Regions from separate parts of the Homo sapiens genome. Here regions 2, 3 and 4 are each linked to region 1. The links are contacts of gene promoters, found by promoter capture Hi-C in blood cells and fetal thymus (Javierre and others, 2016). All regions are on one chromosome and are shown on one strand. Each heading gives the region's core, a stretch centred on a gene start or on the middle of the fragment in contact. The rest is flanking DNA. Distances are from core to core; before and after follow the strand shown.

The links. Contacts are between HindIII fragments. The CHiCAGO score rates a contact against its expected background, and 5 or more counts as called.
Region 2: a contact is called between a fragment that was not itself captured here and the fragment with the promoter of MAP4K3 in region 1, in 1 of 17 cell types (M0 macrophages). The highest score is 5.3, in M0 macrophages.
Region 3: a fragment that was not itself captured here is called in contact with the fragment with the promoter of MAP4K3 in region 1 in 1 of 17 cell types (M0 macrophages); the score reaches 5.3 in M0 macrophages.
Region 4: a contact is called between a fragment that was not itself captured here and the fragment with the promoter of MAP4K3 in region 1, in 1 of 17 cell types (total CD4 T cells). The highest score is 5.7, in total CD4 T cells.

What each region holds. Positions count from the first base shown.
Region 1 is chr2:39,434,838-39,439,898 of GRCh38, forward strand. MAP4K3 (mitogen-activated protein kinase kinase kinase kinase 3) reads right to left here and starts at 2,448. Exons shown (of 34, transcript NM_003618.4): 1 at 2,055-2,448. The coding sequence starts at 2,150. MAP4K3-DT (MAP4K3 divergent transcript) reads left to right here and starts at 2,579. Exons shown (of 6, transcript NR_037875.1): 1 at 2,579-2,698. RefSeq lists an enhancer at 1,642-1,721 and silencers at 2,052-2,411, 2,482-2,701. The HindIII fragment of the contact is 5,405 bases long and covers 1-3,424 here.
Region 2 is chr2:42,115,141-42,120,325 of GRCh38, forward strand. No RefSeq gene overlaps it. Among named protein-coding and RNA genes, the nearest start is that of EML4, 52 kb to the right of the region's middle. The HindIII fragment of the contact is 469 bases long and covers 3,072-3,540 here.
Region 3 is chr2:42,134,723-42,139,522 of GRCh38, forward strand. No RefSeq gene overlaps it. Among named protein-coding and RNA genes, the nearest start is that of EML4, 32 kb to the right of the region's middle. The HindIII fragment of the contact is 3,340 bases long and covers 1,043-4,382 here.
Region 4 is chr2:42,359,386-42,364,092 of GRCh38, forward strand. It overlaps COX7A2L (cytochrome c oxidase subunit 7A2 like), which reads right to left and starts at 1,832. Exons shown (of 3, transcript NM_004718.4): 1 at 1,705-1,832. The coding sequence starts at 1,776. RefSeq lists enhancers at 241-320, 1,005-1,749, 1,523-1,842, 1,750-2,493, 2,483-2,572 and 1 more and a silencer at 2,123-2,292. The HindIII fragment of the contact is 1,989 bases long and covers 2,448-4,436 here.

The DNA of each region.
Region 1 (5,061 bases), core at 1,198-3,697:
AACAAGCATTCCATAAACATCAGCTAGTATTATCATTATTTTAAACGAATGACAAGATTAACCAACTTAGTATACCTCTATTACACTTAGGAAATTACAGGCCCTAATTTTTTTTTGCTTTTTAATCATGTGGCTTAACTACTAACTGTTCTTTTTAATATAGCAAGTACACAGCCAATTAGTCCTGTAAAAAAATTCACTGTATACCCTGCCACCTAAAACGTATACATTCATCGAGTTTTAGTTAACTTTTCATCGCAATATAAGCGAACTCCCCCAACCAGTCATAAGTGACTTGCATCCATCCACTTCTACTTTCACAGTCATCACCATATTCCTTAACACCATTATTCTTACCTAGACTATCACAGTGGCCTCCCAACTGCTCCATTCCACTCTTCATGCTGTAGTAGGGAGCTCTTTTAAAAACCTAAATCTAATGTCACTCCTCTGCTTAAAAGCCTGCAATAGTTCCCCATTGTCCTAAACAAGTCCGATCTCCTAATGAGAACTAAGAGGCCTGCAAGATCTAGGGCCACCCTCCCGCTCTGGCTGCTCAGGCTATACAGGCCTTCTTTCACATCGGGCCTCAGAGCCTTCACATATCATGCTCCCCTATCTGGCGTAATCCCCTCTCCCCAGTACCCTAAGCAACGCCTAATCATCTCTGAGATCTCAGCTGAAAGGCGATGAGCGTCTGATACCCTAAACAGGATCAGGTCCTCCTATTACATGCTCTCATAACCCTGATCCTAATACTCTTTTCTGCATCACAAAATTAAACGGCAATAATTATTTAAATGGCTATTTAATACTGTCCTTGTCCAAAAAAATAGAAACACTTAGGAAGATTTGGAACCAAGTCTATCGTTTACTGCTACAACCCAAAGTGCTTACTTGCCAAGTATCTCATACATTGTAGGTGGGCTCAATATATCTATATTGCATAGTAGGAAAAGTGATGAGATCCACGATGGTGAAAAGTAGATCATCCAGAAAATCAGACTAAAGCAGAACACTGGCTGCACTGTATTAAATATGTAAGTTACCACAGGCATTACACTGAAGAGTAAAAACCTGCTTAAACATGGGCAAAATAAAGTTAAGACTGAACTTTCCAATGCAAAATTAAGTTTCTTTGTGCATCCTCAGGTGTTATGTGAAACTGGAGGAGTTCAACTTCAGTTACCAGTAAGAAGATACACAACTAAATCAAGACTGCTGCCACATTTGGCAACAACCTCCTCTCTTCTTGGCAGTAACTGTGAGGCCAAGAGTTGAGTTGGCCAGGGAAGAGTGATTTATCTTCCCACATTTAGAAGTGGTCCCTCTACAACAGGAATGCTGTACCGCTACTGGACTTTGAATTCTAACCTTGTCAAACCAGTACCTTCCCTAAGTATTCAAGTCACTTTTTAAAAAACAAGTTTAAATGGCATCGCAGTCCAATTCGACTTAGAGAAAACAAAGTTGCTCTTTCCAAAAAAAAAAAAAAGTCATTACTCTGGAAAATTAAAAGAAACTGACAGGGGGATGAATAAGGCGCTAAAGGCTGAGAGCTGTCGATGGAAGATGGAGGTCGCTCAGCATAGTATAATAACTACCACCGAGGCCTGGTGGGCAGCAGCTCCCAACCTAGAGCGGACGACCCCAGGTTGGCGTGAAGCAGGCAGGTTTGACAACACCAGACCCCTGCTGTCCGGTTCGTCGCGCTGACCCTGCCAACGCAACAAACGCCCAGACCTTCTCTGCACTATGGATGAGCAGTGTGGCCTGCTCTCGTTCTGCCCTTCCCTGGAAATGCGCGCAAGAAGGGAGGTGGCAAAAATCATGTCCACCGGGGGGGCTCAGGTAAGGGCTGGGGAGGTCTCGGGGTTAAACATTCGGCCCTTTGTTCACCAAGGCAGCAGAGCCCTTGGCGTCCGCAGCTCCTCCTCCCCGACTGCTCCCTGGCGCCAGCGTCTCCCGAGGACAGGCGGCAAGGGCTCGGACGCCCAGGCTTGGCTGCGGGTCGGGATCCCACGGCCTCGGCGGCGCGCGGCCCCTGCCTTTACCTTGTAGACGTCGCCGTAGGTGCCGCTGCCGATGCGCTGAATCAGCTCGAAGTCCTCCTGCGGGTTCCGGCGGGACAAATCGAAGCCGGGGTTCATGGCGGGCCCCAGGTGCCCCCCGCCTCCCTCCCGGGCAGGGGAGGGGGGCCGCTCAGGGGGCCACACGGAGAGAGGGCGCCGCGGCCGGCTCCCGGCTCCCCCGGCGGTCACAATCACCCGGCTCCACGCTGCGGCCGCCGCCGCCGCCGCCGCTCCCCTCACGCCGCTGCGGACGACGACAAGCGGCCAATCGTCCCCGCCCCCCGCGGCCCGCCGCCGCGCCGAACCTGGTCACACCCACAAGGAGAGGAGAACCCTCGCAGCCCCTCGCTCGGGGTGAAACTCCAACATGGCTTCCGCTTTCGCCGCTCCTCCCCCTCCCCTTACTCCGGCTCCTCCAACCTCCTCCCCTTTTCCCGACTCCCGCCCGACTGCGCAGCCGCGATCCCGGAGGGAGCGCGCCAGGCCTGGCGCGCACCCGACCCCTTGCGCGTTCCGGCTCCGCGCGCCTGCCAGGCCGGGGCCGGCGGCGGAACAGCTTGGGACCCGAAACGCCTCGGCTTTTCTGCGGACCCGCGCCCGGCCGCTGCCGCCGGACGCTTGAAAAGGTTTGCCTGGCCCAGGGACCGGGGTTAGGACTAGCAGAAAGTGGCTTCTTTTCGTTTCTGATTCCCCTAACGACAAAGTTGGACCTTGGTCTATCTGGTCCCAGTTCCAAGCAGGTAGCATAGTGGTAATATCCAAGACAGCCAATGTCCCAGCCTTTATTATTTTAGAAGCAGCTACATGTAGGATACCATGGAGTGCTGCAGCCTTTCTGGGATTGCGGGGAGGGGTCACTAAACACACCGTGAGGAAAACCCCCAGGAAAAGTGAGCTGTGCTTGCTTGCCCCTGTCACCGACACTCGGACCCTTGGAGTTGGCCTGCCAGGGTGCAAAGGAGGGCAGGCCAGGAGGGCCGCGAGGGAGGTGTGTGCAGTGGGCAGAGCGTGAAAGCTCCGGGAGGAAAACACGCGGAACAGCTGCCCACCATCCCGCGTGGGAGGCAGGCAGAGCGCAGAACTAAAGCAGTGATTGACCTCCCTCTTCGAAGAGGGTTGGATTATCAAAGACGGGCGGGGACTGCGCAGGCTGTCAAGCAACCCTGTAAAGAAGGGGTGGAGAGTGGACTAGATCTATTACCGCACCTGAAATATAAACACGTGACGATCCGGAAGCTCTTTAGCTGTGACCTTACCTACCCAAAAACCCCACCCTGCTTAAGACCCAGATTGCGCGTCTTACATCTGAGCTATGTGGACTCCAGCTCCGATTGTTAATACTTGCCCAAGAAAGCTTGAGGGTAATGGAAGGTTATTTTTCTGTTCTCATTGAACTTCCCAATAGACATTTGCAGGAGCTTTAATCAATTAGGTGATGGCCACTTTGGCAATACCACGTTGGAGTTTTGCTTCAGAAATGCTTTCCTAATCCCCTTAGGCACCACACCTTCTAACCACTAATATTCCCTAATACCTCGTGGCTCCTGAGAAACTAGGTCTCATCAAACCTGTTAAGGATAAGTATAATAAATTAATAGTAGAGCAAACTACTTAGAGTTAACTGCTTCATACTTTTTCAAAAAATCTTTTGAATCCTTTTGCTCATAGGAAAATTGCATATGTACTAAATTCTCAAATTGTTTACTTTGAGTATCTGTTGACTAAATTGATGTTTGAAAATGGTTATCTCTTCACCTATATAAGTAGCCTTTCAGTTGTGTAATTTTTAATTATTAAATTTTAAAGCATCAGTAATATGAAAGTATCACTTAAATTATTGCCTTAGGAGTGCATATCATTGAATATCTTCTCGATGGATCTACCTTCAGGCTCTGGTATCTTGAGAAACTCCTGACTATAAATGTTATTCCATAGCCAAAGGTCTTGCTTTTGCTTGTTTAAGGTACTTGCCCAGGACCCAGATTACAGGCCTTCCTTCAGTTTGTCCACATTTGGAGAATTGTTTGGCATGTTTAGGCCAAGCGCAAGAATAATTAGCCAAGGATTCAGATAAGCAGACCTGACAAATTATCCCAAATGGAAGCCAGGTCTGCTCTTTTCCTCTGCCTTTTTTTTTTTTTTTTTTTTGAGAAGGAGTTTCGCTCTAGTTGTCCAGGCTTGAGTGCAAGGGTGCAATCTCAGCTCACTGAAACCTCTGCCTCCCGGGTTCTTAGCGATTCTCCTGCCTCAGCCTCCCAAGTAGCTGGGATCACAGGCATGCAACACCACACCCAGCTAATTTTTGTATTTTTAGTAGAGATGGGATTTCTCCTTGTTGGTCAGGCTGCTCTTGAACTCCCGACCTCAGATGATCCGCCTGCCTCGGCCTCCTGAAGTGGTGGGATTACAGGCATGAGCCACTGCACCCGGCCTCTGCCTTTTTAGTGCCAGAAAGCCAAATTCTCAGGACTGAAAGCTGCACAAGAAAGTTCTAATGACTTCAGTGTTTTGTTTGCTGAGATTATCGTCTGTCCAAATAACTTTGCATTTGCATCACTAATAGACTGCTTTCAAAAGGAAAAGACATTTCAGTAGGGCTAGAACAGTCTTTAAAGTTTTGTCTGTTCCATTTTGGCAGGGCCAAGCTAGTCCTTTTGAGAAGAGATGAATTTCCATGTAAGGGCCTGATTTGCCATGTGGGTTACAACATAAGTAAAACAACTGCTCACAAAGAAAATATTTTGTTTTTTGTAATATATGCATGTGGCCAATTCCAGTGCCTTTTCCCCCTGTTCTAACAATCCTCAGTTTTGCTAGAAGTAACACTAATGATCACACTTTCCTAGAATCAGAGAAAGAGCTTCCCTCTTCTATGATTAGAAGCATTCTTAGAAGTCATCTAATCTTTTTAACTCAGGAACTGCTTCTACAGCATCTCTGCTGGATTTGCTGCTGCTTGAATACTTTCAATAAAAGGTGACTCATTGCT
Region 2 (5,185 bases), core at 2,056-4,555, 2.7 Mb after region 1:
GGCTCAAGATTAGGGGGTGGGTTGCACTACACTGGAGCGGAGAATGGAGAGCAAAAGCACTGATTGAATGCACAGTCTTCTGTTGGATCCTGGGATGATACAGAAGTGTCAGAGTTCCTGGGTCTTGTAGGAGTTCCAATGAGCATCAATCAAAAGTTTGATTGTAAGGCACAGAAATCAACTTGGACCAGCTAAAGCAAAAAGACCATTTTTAGGGAAATAGGGATGTGTCACAAAGAACTGCATCTAGGTACTGGAAATCAACAAAAAGTTCCCCATCTGATCTCAGCTTCTCTGTGTGTCTACTACATACACTATCTTTCTCCTCTTTTCTTTCCTCTCTACCCCCTACCTCCCTCCTCTCTCTTTTTTTTTTTTTTTTTGTTTTTTGGTTTTTTTATGTTTGTTTGTTTGCTTTTGGAGACACGGTCTCCCTCTGTCACCCAGGCTGGAGTGCAGTGGCTTAATTACTGCAGCCTCAATCTCCTGGGCTCAAGTGACCCTCCCACCTCAGCCTCCTGAATAGCTGGGACCACAGGTGCAAGCCACAGTGCTCAGCTAATTAAAAAAAATTTTTTTTTCAGAGATGGGGTCTCACTATGTTGTCCAGGCTGGTCTCAAACTCCTAGGCTCAAGCAGTCCTCCCGTTTCAGCCTCAAAAAGTGCTGGGATTACAGGTGTGAGCCATCGCACTCCACCTTCTCTATAGTTACTGAGTTTGCGTGTTACACTGAGTTTACATCTTACATTTCTAGCCATATCAGAAACGACCTCTGCACCTCTCTTTCCCAATTTGAGATTTCTAATAGAAAGAATCTTGTTCACCCAGCTTGGGACTCATTGAGTTATGACCAGTGGGATAGATTTTAGAAGATAAACATGTCTATAGGGACTTACCGTGTGAATTAGTGGGGGAGCCGCTTACCAGGCAGAGGGGTCTGCTGTAAAGTGATACTGTGACTTTAAATTGAAAGTAAGCTTCTAGAAGAGTTGAAGAGGAGTGGATTATTGTTGAATGGATGTATAACTAATGAAGCTTTAAAGGAAGTTTATTAGAAAGTCCATGTCCTTGTCTCTTTCCCAAACTCCTTTAGTTCCCAAGTCCTGAAAGAATCTATGGATAAGGGAAGCAGAATACTATAGTGGTTAAGAGCACATGCTCGAGGTTAAACTGTCTGTATTTTGGATCCTGGCCTTGAGGACTTGGGCAAGTTACGTGACCTGCCTGAGCCTCAGTTTCCTCACCTGTAATATGGGTATCACGAGGAATAAATAAGGTAATATGTGTAAAGTGCTTGGCACAATGCTCTTGATAATGTTAGCAACATAATTTTGTAATGAAAATTAACTGATGGGGCTGAAATGTGCATCAGCAGATCCAAATATCCTTGATAAACTGGCCAAAAGAAAGATGAATTGGCAGAGAGGCAAGTGTTCATCTCAGTTCTCCAGATATCCCTGCAAATGTGGCCTCTGGAGTAGAAGATTTAGGGAGAAAAATAAGCCATGAAGCTCTTCTGGCACCAACATGAACTTCAGGGATCATGGGACATTTGGGCCAGTAACATTCCTCTTTGTTCCTAGAGATTTAATATCTACCTACCAACTAAATGGCCTTGATTTGGAGGAGAGAAGACAAGAAGAGGAATTGCTTTCAGCTGGTCCTTGCCTTTAACTAACCAGGGGTACAAAAATTTTAAAATACAAAGGAGACCATGTGTAAAACATTAGTTAAGCTCAGATATAAATCTAGTCTTTGACCAGTCCAGAGCTAATCAATATGCTTTTCTACTCTCTTTGAACTTTTGAGTTTTCTGGCAACAACAAAAATCCCAAACCTCATCCAAAACCGTAGTCCAGACAGCCCAGTTTCTGCACTCCCTTCCTTGTGTCACATATTGTTGACAGAACTACTCCCGTTACCACATTCATTCCAGTGGTGATTCAAATTCTTCTGCAGAAATGGACTTGAAAGACAGAAAACTGCTCCTGTAATCACTTAATAAGGAATCTTGGATGAGGAATACAGAGCTATGAATATGGATTTACTCTTAGCCTTTATGGATGCCTTTTTCTCAGTTATTTTCACTGAAAATCATGATGAACTGATTTAAATATCAAGGTAAACTGAGATGGAAAATTACCGATAATAAGAGTTTTCTGAAAATATAGATTGGCCTCTTTAAAGCACATCGAGTTTGTTTTGTTTAAATTACAAATTCACATATATTTGAAATGTGTTTAAATGTGTCAGTTTTAGGCAAAACTAAACTATTTGATTCCTTTCCAAAAATCAGGAATTTGCTTTGGAAAAAAACCATGCAGTTTGATTTACAAAGCAGAGCGGGGGGGAAGTAGTGGGTGAGAAAGACCCACCCAAAGGCTGCAGCCAGCTTCCCCAGGAAGATTCATAACCATGCCACAATACTGTCCTTCAATTCGTTCCAACAGATTTTACTATAACTCTAAATCATTAGAAGCAACTGCTGCTATGACTAGTGCTATCTTTGCCTCAAAAAGAGGAAAAATCAGGACATACAATATAATCCCCTCAGGATCTAGGAGAGAAATCAGCCCATTTGTCATAAGAACTGAAAACCTCAGCTAAATAGTATATGAAACATTGGTATTTCATACCTTGACATTACATATTTTTGAAAATAAAGTAAGCATACACACAAGAAGTGGCTAGATGCAGCAGTTATAAAGTGGCTTAAGTTGGGTTAACTAAATATAACCTAGAAAAACCATCTTATCTATTGCAAATTATTTCCAGAAAAAGGTAAGAAAAATCCAACCAACACTTTTTAAACATCCTGAGCTATTCACAGCAAGTGAATCTTTACCCTTACCAGATGTATAAACATTTACATAAGGCAGGAGGTTCAACACTTGGAGAGTGTAATCAAGGCAGTAGTAACGCAGTGCTCCTCTCTTTGACTTGAATGACTTCCTCCCCATTAGGGTCATTATTGTTTTGCAGTGTCCCAGGGATGAAAGGACTTTGAAAGGTCATGTGTCTTGTGACCCAACTAGCAGCATCAGCATCACTGGGGAGAAACTCAAGCAGAAGCTTGAGTCTACTCCACTCTTGCTGACACCAAATCTGCATTTTTACAGGATTCTTGGGTGAGTCACACACATATTCAAGGTTAAAATATGCCACCCTAGGTCTTTCTCCTGCTTCTGAGCAAAACTGGGCACAAGGGACAAACTAGTTTCCTTCAGCCACTTTCAAATCCTTTATAGAGTGTACTGTGTGAGTCACTGAGAGGAAAGAGGAAATAATACTTATTTAGGGAAGTCTTGCATAACTTAACAAAGTTAGTAACTTCTTCAATACACTCAAGTACCTATTTTTGGAAGCCCTACAGGTTAGGTCAAAGTAAAGAGAAGCAAAAAATGGAGTGAGTTCTAGTAAAAAACTCTGACAAAATAAGGGAAGTGTAGAAGCTGAGTCTATGAGGGATGAGAGAAGCAATTTACCAAATTATCAGATCCAAAATCATCTCTGCACTGTAGATGATTTATAGCCCTGGAAGCTTAGAGGCTTGAGTCTCTTGCTGTATTTCATTTCAAATTAGTAATTTTTATCTAGGGCTTCCCTATGGCTTAAAGTGAAGGCCCTGGAATTTCTGAAGTGAAATTATCTGATGATTTTTATGTATGGTCATTCTGTAGTTATCCTGTAAGTTTCATATTTGTAACAAGACTGGAATCCGAACAATAGAAAACTCTGTGGCAGTAAGCCAAAACCTGATGGACTTAGGAGAGTTACGTATGTGTGTTTCAGTGGTCCTCAAATTCAGCTGCCTATTAGAATCACCTGGACTTTGAAAAAAAAAGAGCTTTCTTGAGGTATAACTGACAAATAATAAGACAAACATATTTCAGTATACAATTGGATGAGTTTTGACATGTTATATTCTTGTGAAACCATCACCACAATCAAGCTATTCACCCCCCAAATTTTCGTGCCCCTTTGTTGTCCCACCCTTCTTTCTGCAACCACTGATCTGCTTTCTATCACTATGGATTAATTTGTATTTTCTAGAAGCTTAAATAAGTGAAACCATATGGTGTGCATGTTTTGCAGGGAGAGGGCAGGGGGAGCTGGTTTCTTTCACTCGGTGTAATTGTTCTGAGAGTCATCCGTGTTTGCATGTGTTAATAGTTTATTCTTTTTATCGGTAAGTAGTATCCCATTGTGTGGATGTACCACATGTTGTCTAACCATTCACAACTAAAGGATACTTGGGTTGTTTCTCATTTGGGGCAATTGAAAATAAGCAGTATAAACTGCTATAAACAGTCATGTACAGATATAAGCATGTATGTTTCCATTTTTCAAGGTAAATACCTAGAAGTGGGTATGGTAAGTGTATGTTTAACTTGAAAAGAAACTACCAAAATGTTTCCAAAGTGGTTGTACCATTTTGCTTACCTACCAGAAATGTGTAAGAGTTCTAGTTACTCCACATACTTCCTAGCAGTTGATATTCTCAGTTTTTTTTTTTATTTTAACCGTTCTAATAGCTGTGTAATGGTATTCCATTACAGTACTAATTTAAATTTCCCTAATAACTACTGAGGTTGAAAAAATCTTTCATGGGCATATTTGCCATCCTTGTATCTTCTCTGGTGACGAATCTTTCATGCCTTCTGCTTATATTTTAACCAGGGTTTTGTTTTGCTTTTTCTTAACTGTTGAGTTTTAAGAGTCTATATATACTGCAAACAACTCCTTGGTAAGATATATGATTGGCAAATCCTTTCTCCTAATCTTTTTATTTCCTTAACAATGCCTTTCAAGAACAGAAATTCTTAATTTGATGCAATGCAATTTATTAGTTTTCTTTTTTCTTTTTTTTTTTTTTTTTTTTTTTGAGACGGAGTCTCGCTCTGTCGCCCAGGCTGGAGTGCAGTGGCGCGATCTCGGCTCACTCCAAGCTCCGCCTCCCGGGTTCACGCCATTCTCCTGCCTCAGCCTCCCGAGTAGCTGGGACTACAGGCGCACACCACCACGCCTGGCTAATTTTTGTATTTTTAGTAGAGATGGGGTTTCACCATGTTGGCCAGGCTGCTCTCAAACTCCTGACCTCAGGTGATCCACCCGCCTCAGCCTCCCAAAGTGCTGGGATTACAGGCGTGAGCCACCATGCCCAGCGTATTAATTTTCTTGCAT
Region 3 (4,800 bases), core at 1,463-3,962, 2.7 Mb after region 1:
GAGGTGGGAGGATAGGATCGCTTGACTCTGGGAGGCGGAGGTTGCAGTGAGCCGAGATCACACCACTGCACTCCAGCCTGGGCCACAGAGGGACACTCCGTCTCAAAAAAAAAAAAAAAAAAAGTATTTACCATCCAACTGAGACTTAGCACAGACAGTGAATATGCGTGACTGAAATACAAAATAGATGAGTCTTAACAGACAAGTAGGGAATGATTCAGTACACAGAGCATGATCAACTGAATGGAAATTTCTGGAAAGCAGGTTTGTCTGTGGTGATGAAGGGTTGTGGGTAGGGCAATGAATAAAATAAAGACCCCTAGTTATATTTTAATTTCAGCTATAGAAAACTAATGCAATATTTGGGATATATTTATAATAAAAAATTCATTGTCTGAAATTCAAATTTGACGGGATGATCTGTGTTTTGTTTTGTTTTGTTTTGTGTTTTTGCTAAATCTGGAAATCCTAGTTTGGGTGGCAGGCTAGAGAGGAGAACCTCAGGCATTTGAGGGAGTGGTGGGTCTCATCTGTGTGGAACTGTCCCCCAGGGGCTGCAGGGAAAGCATACAGGCATTTGGGGTTGTCCCAAAAATTAGGGGTTGCTAGTGGCATTTGGCAGATGTGGATCAAGATGCTAAATATAGTACATTAGGTATAGTTCCAATGAAGTTTTGTTCTAATGAAGAATTGTCCCATCGTAAACACCAATAGCACCTAGACCAGTGCCACCTGCTGTACCATTTTACTGAGGACTGACTCTATCAGCCTCACATAGTTGATTCCCAGAAAGCAGTGCACCAGCTAGTCAGAGAGCTTCAGAACCTGCCCTCAAGGGAAGAGACAACCAACGTCCCAGGTATTTGCCCCAAAGCCTCCTATGGTCCAAACCAAGGCATATAGCTGGTCCACTGAAATGAACCCCTGAAACGAACTGCAAGCCTTCGAAGCTTACTCTGAGTACCACCTCCTTCAGGAAGCTTTCTTTTGACTGCTCCAATTTTCACTAATCTGTCTGCTCTGAGTACCACCTCCTTCAGGAAGCTTTCTTTTGACTGCTCCAATTTTCACTAATCTGTCTGCTCAATCCCTAAAACTCTTTTTCTTCTAATTTAACATTTGAACATATTCTGCTAATAGTTCCCTGTGTGCTAGCCTGTGAGTTTTTCTCTCCAACTAGCCTGGGTACTCAGGAAAGTGAGATCAACTTCTGGGTGGCCTTGGGTGTAGCTGACCTGTGCAAATAGGGGAGACAGTTGACATACAGATGAAAGGGGAGATGGGAAGCCATACAGAGGAAGGAGAAGATCAGGAACCAGAGATAAGATAATTCTGTAAATGGATACTAAATTGAAGTCTGGGCTTCCTGACAGCTCAATCAAAAAGTGAAACACAATTGGTTACATCACTCTTACTGTCTGAAAAAAGGAAGCAATATCAGCTCATGAGGAAATGTAATCTTTTCCCTCATGCTAAATTGTAAGTGAAATTTATTACATAGATCCTAAAAGACAGGATTCTGAGAAACAGAATGAGCAATGACTCCAATTGAGTTTTCAGAATATACAAAAAGGGTTTGTTTGTTTGTTTGTTTGTTTGTTTTTCTGTGATTACCCTCTAAGAAAGTCAGAACTGGTGGGAAGCAGTGGCTCACACCTGTAATCCCAGCACTTTGGGAGGCCGAGGCAGGCAAATGGCTTGAGCTCAGGAGTCCGAGACCGGCCTGGGCAACATGGTGAAACCCTGTCTCTACTAAAAATACAAAAAAAAAATTAGTCAGGCATCATTGTCATCCCAGCTACTCGGGAGGCTTAGGTAGGAGGATCACTTGTGCCCAGGAGGCAGAGGTGGAGGTTACAGTGAGCCGAGATGGCACCACTGCACTCCAGCCTAGGTGACAGAGCGAGAGACCCTGTCCCAAAAAAAAAAAAAAAAAAGAAGTCAGAACTCCAGTATTGAACCTTGGCTCAGTGCAAAAATTTTTATAAGGAATTAAGCTAATGTATTCTAAATATATTGGTTTCTAGTGATTTTTATTAATAAACGTGTACTCAGGAGTTTTCAACAGCCCAGAGCTGTTATGAAGCCTTCATATGTGGCTCCCTCAGGAGCTTCTGACAGCCTTAAGGAAAGAGTGGGGGTGGAAGCTAAGTTTGTGGTTAGGGGTAGAGGAAAGAATGGGAACAGACACACTCTACTTGTCACCCCACCCTCCTCTCCCCAAGCTAGAATCAGACAGTGGGAATTATGCACCCTGCCAAGAAGGCGCTTCCCAGCCACATCCCCAGTAAAGGAATAGAGGAAAACAGGATGTCACCAAGGGCCCACCCCAGGATAGGATCGTGAGAATGACTTGAGAGACTCCCTGATGGTATGGATCACCTTCTAATGAGGGCTACACTTTGGGTTAGTTTGCCTCTCCTCCAAAGGCAGGGAACAAATAATTAGATGACTCAAAACAGAGTTTCCATTTTTTTGTTTGTTTTATTTGAGGCCCAGGGGCTGTGGGTTGTTGATTAACACACATGTCCCTCTCCGTGCCCACCCATCCCCATCTCAGGTAACACCCCTAGGGCTTGGTGGCTAGCTGTGGCAAAATCATGGTGAGTCTGTAGATTATCAAAAATCTAAGCAGCAGGCCTGGGATGAGAGGTCAAGGCCAAAGGTACAAACCTCTGGCACGGGCTTTTGTCTTTTGTGTTTTCAATGGCAGTAGCTTCAATTTCCTTCCTGCTGGTGTGAAAAGGATGACTGGAGCAGGCAGGGCTGATCCAGGTGCAGGTGGGGAGGATCAAACAGCCTGCCCACTGCTCCCTCTCCTCTCCTCACTGGGGCTGAGGGAGTCTCCTGTGGGAGAGAGGGGGCCATCTTTCCTTCGTCCCCGAGGAGAGGTCAACCTGATTGTGCTGCCCTTGCTTGCCTAGGGCAGTTGCTTCTCGGGTTGGTAGATACTGGGCTTAGTGCTGGAATGTGGATACTGGACTCATTTCTGATTTTCTGGCTCTTCAGCAATGTTGACCCAGGCCCTCCCTATCACATGGGATTAGAGGAAGGAGGTTTAGGTAGAGTCATTTGTGGTTACTCAGCATCTGAACTCCCTTCACATGTTTAGGACATTTACCTTTTTATGAATCTTGGTGTCCTAAGAAAGAGCCCTAAGGACCAGATACTCTCTTATTTTATTTCATCTTATTTTATTTGAGACGGAGTCTTGCTTGGTCACCTAGGCTGGAGTGCAGTGGGGTGATCTCAGCTCACTGCAACCTCCACCTCCCGGGTTCAAGCAATTCTCCTGTCTCAGCCTCCTGAGTAGCTAGGGCTACAGGTGCCCACCATCACATCCGACTGATTTTTATATTTTTAGTAGAGATAAGGTTTCACCATATTGGTCAGGCTGGTCTCGAACTCCTGACCGTAGGTGATCACCCACCTTGGCTTCCCAAAGTGCTGGGATTACAGGCATGAGCCACCACGCCTGGCCCAGATACTCTCCTTTCTAGTCTCTTTTAAAGGTAGGATATGGACACATAACCGAGACTTGGCCAACAGGTGCAGCTGCTCCAGAAGGAATCAGAAATTACTGGCACCAACAAATACGGATCCCTTTTCACAGGAAACTGCAGGGCAGCAAAAATATACAAGCTCCCAGTGCAGTGGTGCTTATGGTGGTATCCAGTGTCTGCAGCTGAAGAGGGTGACAATGTAAGTTGTGGTCCAGCACTGGGCAGTGGCAACAGTGGTATCATCATCTTAGGCCCTGTGCTGTGATTGTACCTATAGCCTTGGCTGTGATCCTGAATTTCTGGTTCCTGTGTTTTTTGAGCCTATTTCTCTAGCCTTCCCAGTTTTTCTATGAGTTGCCCAATAGCATTTCAACAAATTATTTTTCTGTTTAAATCAATCAGAGTTGGTTTCTGTTGCTTGCAACTGAGAACCCTGATTCTGTCTAACTACAACTGGCTTCGGTCAGTCATTTGCAGATGCTTTTTCTCTTTCGCTGCCTGCATTCTTCATGCCTCTGCTCTCCTGGCAATTCCTCAAGTAATCCAGAAAAGGAGGAAAGAGCATGCAGAGAATTTGACCACAGCTGGGAAGTGAGCCAAGAGAACACTGAAGAACTTGACTATTAGATCTCCTACTTTGTTAGGTGGGGTGAATGCAATATTAATGAGACAGAAGGCTGTGAGCTGTCTGTCATTTTATTTTTTTATCTCTAACTTGGTTATACAATGATACAATTATTACCTATGGTACTTAAAGGCCTATGAAGGCATGGACCAAGTCTCCCTTGTTTGCCCCAGTATCTAGGTCATACTAGGTACTCAGTAAGTAGTAGTAGGGGATGATGATGGAAGTTTGAGAAACAGAATTCAGGGAAGAGAAGCTTAATATATCCTTAATGTCTTTAAAAAAAGAATTGTCTCATCTATGTGGGAGCTAAAGATTAAGGTCTGCAAGTCGAGCCAACACTGCGAATATGTGGTGGTGTTGATTGAGGAGCAAGAGCCTGGAGCTTTAGCCATCAGACATTCAAAAGCAGAAATGACATTCTCCCAGACAGACAGAGCCTAACTTGGGTCTAGCCCAGACAGGATGCCGGTCCATTTCTTCTTGGAAGGGGGCCCCAAGAATGCCTGCAAGCTGAATTGAGATGGATCTCCAAAAAGCATTTTGAATCAGTTTCAAATGCATTGGCAGTCTGGGGGAGTCAATGTGAGTCTAGATAACCAAGGGCAGGGTTTCAGCTCTCTTAAGCAGAAAATAACTTCAATGCATCTCTTTTTTTTTCTTTTTTTCTTT
Region 4 (4,707 bases), core at 2,192-4,691, 2.9 Mb after region 1:
TATTGAGGGAGGTGTGGTTATACAGTACATGGGTTTGTCCAAACTCATCAAACTGTAACATTTAATATCCATACACTGGAGAATACATTTCATAGAAGCAGATGATAGAAATGGCCATTTTCTCACATAATCTGTAAAAGAAGTGCAACACTGCTGACTATTCCTTCCTTACAAGTCATTACCAATTCGGTTTCAGTGAGACCACACTGGTTTCCCTTCTCATCCGGACTATTCTTTAAACACATTCTCCTTCTCCACCCTTCCCTCATGTTTCTATACTCTAACTATAATCCAACCTTTCTTCCCTACAAATTACCACCTATGGGCTGAAGACACCCAAGTTTATTAAACTCCATATTCAAAAATCTAGCTGCTACCAAGCATGACATATCACAAACTCAACATTTATAAACCCTAAACTCTTCCTTCCCGTTCCCACCGCAACTCCCCCACTAACCCCCGAAAAAAAAAAAAAAAACTTGCCCTTCTTATCTGAGATTAGAATCATCTGTTTTTGTTTTTAGAGACAGGGTCTCACTATGTTGCCCCAGGCTGATCTCAAACTCCTGGGCTCAAGCGACCCTCGGCCTCGGCCTTCCAAAGTGCTGTGATTTACAGGCGTGAGCCACGGTACCAGACCTGAAATCTTTCTTAAACATCTGCCTCTTGGGCAAGCTGCAGTGTCCCACAGAAAAAGGAAATGAAGCAACAGTAATGGAGTATCCTTTACACCTCATCTGGGCCCCTCACTACTGCAGTCTAACTGCGTATCTCACCGACACTTCCCACACTTCTCTAGAGGATTAGGAGGGAATATACTATCTCAGACAGCTTCTGGTGAACAGTTAACACTTATCCAGAACCAACCACCTGCCCAAACTGCTAGTCACTTGACACACTTCATTTAATGTGTACTAACGCCGCCCTGGATGAAACTGAGCTCACAATAAATTAAATAACTTGGCCAAGGTCACACAATTAAAGCGGAAAACGCCATGATTTGAAAAGGCACGTCTGGGGCTCTAAAATCCCTCATGTTTACCCCCAACACATGCTGGAGAGTCAAACTCCAATTGGTAGAATCTGCGTGAAATGGAATACTTTTCAGACAACCCAAACAACGAGCATCTGTCAAATATTTTACAATCGGGAAAGTGTAACCTCGCTGCATGCAACTTCCCTCCCTGGACGTGTTAAGTAACCTGTTAAATTTCCCAACCCAGATCATAGCCCCCCAACCCCCTGCACCATGGTTTCTCTAAACGCCTTTATAGCCCCGCGCTCTCTAATCTCGAGCTCAAGTGAGGCTGCCTATGGGGCTCTGGCAGATGACAAACGACAAGGAGGCCGAAAGCCAGATGTCTTCGAATTGAGGGAGAAGGCCGGACCTCTGACTCGGGTCACACTGGGGACCCCCACAAACCATCCCTTTTAGACAAGTGACCCCGGGGGTCACCTTGACCCCTGCAGTGAGCCAGACCAAACTTCCACGCCAGGCCAGCCCCCGCCAGGTGAGCAGGTACACAAAAAGAAGCCTCAGTGACCACCGTACGCTGGTGTGGAGAGGCCCCGGGAGGTGCAAGGAGAACAGAGACGAACTCGACCGCGGGCAGAAGCCTCCCCTGGCTCCAACGCCGCGACTGCCTGTCGCCGAGGCTAGGGCCGCCACTTCTCATGTCCGAGCTGGCCAGGCGCCACTCGTACCTGCGGGCTATAGGCCTCCGAAGCCCATGCTCCTGCCAACTTCTGCGTGAAGCCACTAAACTTGTAGTACATGACGCCCAGAGTCCGGCTTCCCGCATCCGCTGCCAACGCGACCGCCCCAGAGAAGGACCCCGCCTCCCCGGCTGTGGTCCCGAGACTCAGCGCAAGGACCCGGTGCTGGGACTAGGGCTGCCCGAAGATCGCCTAACTTAAAACCTGCACACTTAAGCCGCATTGGGGAACCAAAAGCCAGGGTTCTCAGGACCACGAAAGGCAAAACCAGCTCTAAGAGAGCACGCAAAGTCGCTGTGGCGGAGTCTGTAGGAAATATGAAGTTCCCTCTTTCCCCCATTCAGATTTGGGCAGTGCCACGACAACTCAAGAAATGCGCAAGCGCTCCACGGACTAAGCCCGGCGGACTAAGCCCGGCAGTGTCGGAGTCAGGTGGAGCATGCTTTAGGAGGGGCGGGCTCCAGGCGGGGCCTGGGGGGGAGAGGGCGGTGATTGGTGGGCGTGGTCTGGGTAGGGGCGGGGCTACATCGAAGCCGGTTGGGAATTCCACCATCCGAGAGAGTCTGTGCTGCGGAGCCACCGTCTGGTCGTCGGGTTGAAGGCGTCTCTTGCTTTACCGAACTTTAACTGATCGTAGTCTCATTTATTTCCTTCCGACCTAGAGCACCTCTTATCCAGAAGCCACCACCTGCTGTTGCTCAGTCTGCCCAGGAGTATAGACTTGTCGGCCAAGCTTCCCCTGGCAACCTGGGAGTTGAAGCAAATAAGAAAATTTGGAAGCACCTGCTGAAGGCTGTTTAGTACCCAGGGCTGTTGGGAGATTTGCCCCAATAATATAAAAGTAGCCTCCTGGGCTTTGTGCAGAGGAAATACACATGCAGAGTGATCTAAAGCTCAGGTACCAGGATGTAAATGTCACACGGTTTCTCAGAACTGGTTTTTATTCTCACCTGAGTTTTAAGGTCATTGATTATTCATCCTTTTCCTGGCCTCTGCTCTTTGCGATAAATGAGGTAGGGGGAGGGTGATCAGAAACACTTGTAAAATCTGGACCTTGAGCCTGAAAGATCTGGAACTACCACTTTCAGTTCTGGTAGTATTCGCTTCAGTTCAATTTAAATATGTCTGTTAAGCCTGTGCTGTGTGCAAGGTACTGTGTAAAAGGAGTATACTAGTTTCTTACTCTCCAGGGATGGACTCAGGCTTTTCTTAGCTTCATCATCTAACCATAGGTTTACACAAGCATATTCTAGATGCACTTATGAAATCATGTTGCAAATTGATGGATGATACTAACCTATATATAGCATTGCCCTAAACTCATTTAATCTTCACAACAATCCTATAAGGTAAATGCTATTATCATCTCCATTTTAGAATACAGGAAAATGACGCCTGGAGAAGCTAAGTAACTTGCTCAGGTCAGGGATAAGTGGCAGAGCTAGGCATTTGGCTCAAGACTTCCTACTGTTAAGCACTATGTTACAAATAAATAGATATGAAGCCATTCTGAAAAGAGGAGGATCAAGGCTGAGCATTCCAGGGTGAGGGTGTACACCAGCATCCTGGTTGCAGGCTTACGTTCAAGAGCCCCAAGTATTCAGCACCGCCAATATGTTGTAAAGGTTTCAGCGAATTCATGTAAGCCAGCCCAAAGTTGCCACTTTTACAAAGAGACACTGTGATATAATGGAAAGAACATGCAATTTGGGTTTATGTCCATATTTCTCCAAGGATAAGTGGTTTGGGACTAGTGATTTCCTTTTTTTTTTTTTTTTTTTTAAATTCTTTTTGAAACAGGGTCTCACTCTGTCCCAGGCTGGAGTACAGTGGTGTGATCTCGGCTCATTGCAGCCTTGACTTCCCAGGCTGAGGTGATTCTCCTACCTCAGTCTCCCGGGTAGCTGGAACCACAGATGCGCGCCACCACGCCTGGCTAATTTTTTGTATTTTTAGTAGAGATGGGGTTTCACCATGTTTCCCAGGCTAGTCTCAAACTCCTGGGCTCAAGTGATCTGCCAAACTCAAGACTCCCAAAATGCTGGGATTACAGGCATGAGCCACCGTGCCAGGCCCACCCCATGTTTTGATACTGAATAGATTCAGGAAGATTTTTCTACGACAAAAAGTTCGACTACCTCAAAAGAAAATGATCCATTGACATTAGCCTTCTTGAGTCCCAGGCGCTAGCAAATATTGAGTGAAAGAAAAAGCCTTTCATAGAGTTTAGATTGAAAAGAGAAATTAAATGATTTGGGACAGCTACTGTCTCCATCCCACTGACTTCTGGACATATTTTGGAAGAAGAAACGAAAGAATATTCTCTAACTTTTAGCAGCACTAAGGTGTACCAGCTTCTTTTATAAGGTGCCTGTCAACACTGGTTATTTTCTTAAAGTTCCTGCCATCTGATTTTAGATCCTGCAAGACATAAATTAAGAATCCTGAAAATGTTACAACAGCCAGGCTGTTCAGTGGGAGATAAAATGTCAGTAGCAGAGTGTGGGTTGGGATGTCACATGGAATGGCTGATCATGGGAAGATTTTGTCTCATTTCCCAAATAAAACACAGCACACTCTGACAGTACTAAGGCACCCTATTCTCATTCGTATTTGCATATCCCATCCAACATCAAAGACAATCTTTTTTTATCACGATCCCTTCAGGTTGTTCCCCACATTCTATTCTGAAGGGAAGTGACCACGACTCAGAGTAGAGAAGCTTGCCAATCACCAGGTGAACTGAGTGAGTGCAAATGCCAGTCCAGCTCCTGGTGAATCTGAATGCCGCTGCTTCTCCATTTGTGAGGGGTGTGTGCTAATGGCCTCTGGCAGGCCGCTCTGTGAAAGCGCCTGGGGAATGGATGGAAAACCAACATAAAATTTAAATTGGGTAATACTGAGTAGAGATAGGAACCAACTGTGAAATAGTTGTTAATTTTTTAAATTCTCTCATTTTTTCCAAGCTGACTTTTAAAAAATTGACAGTGA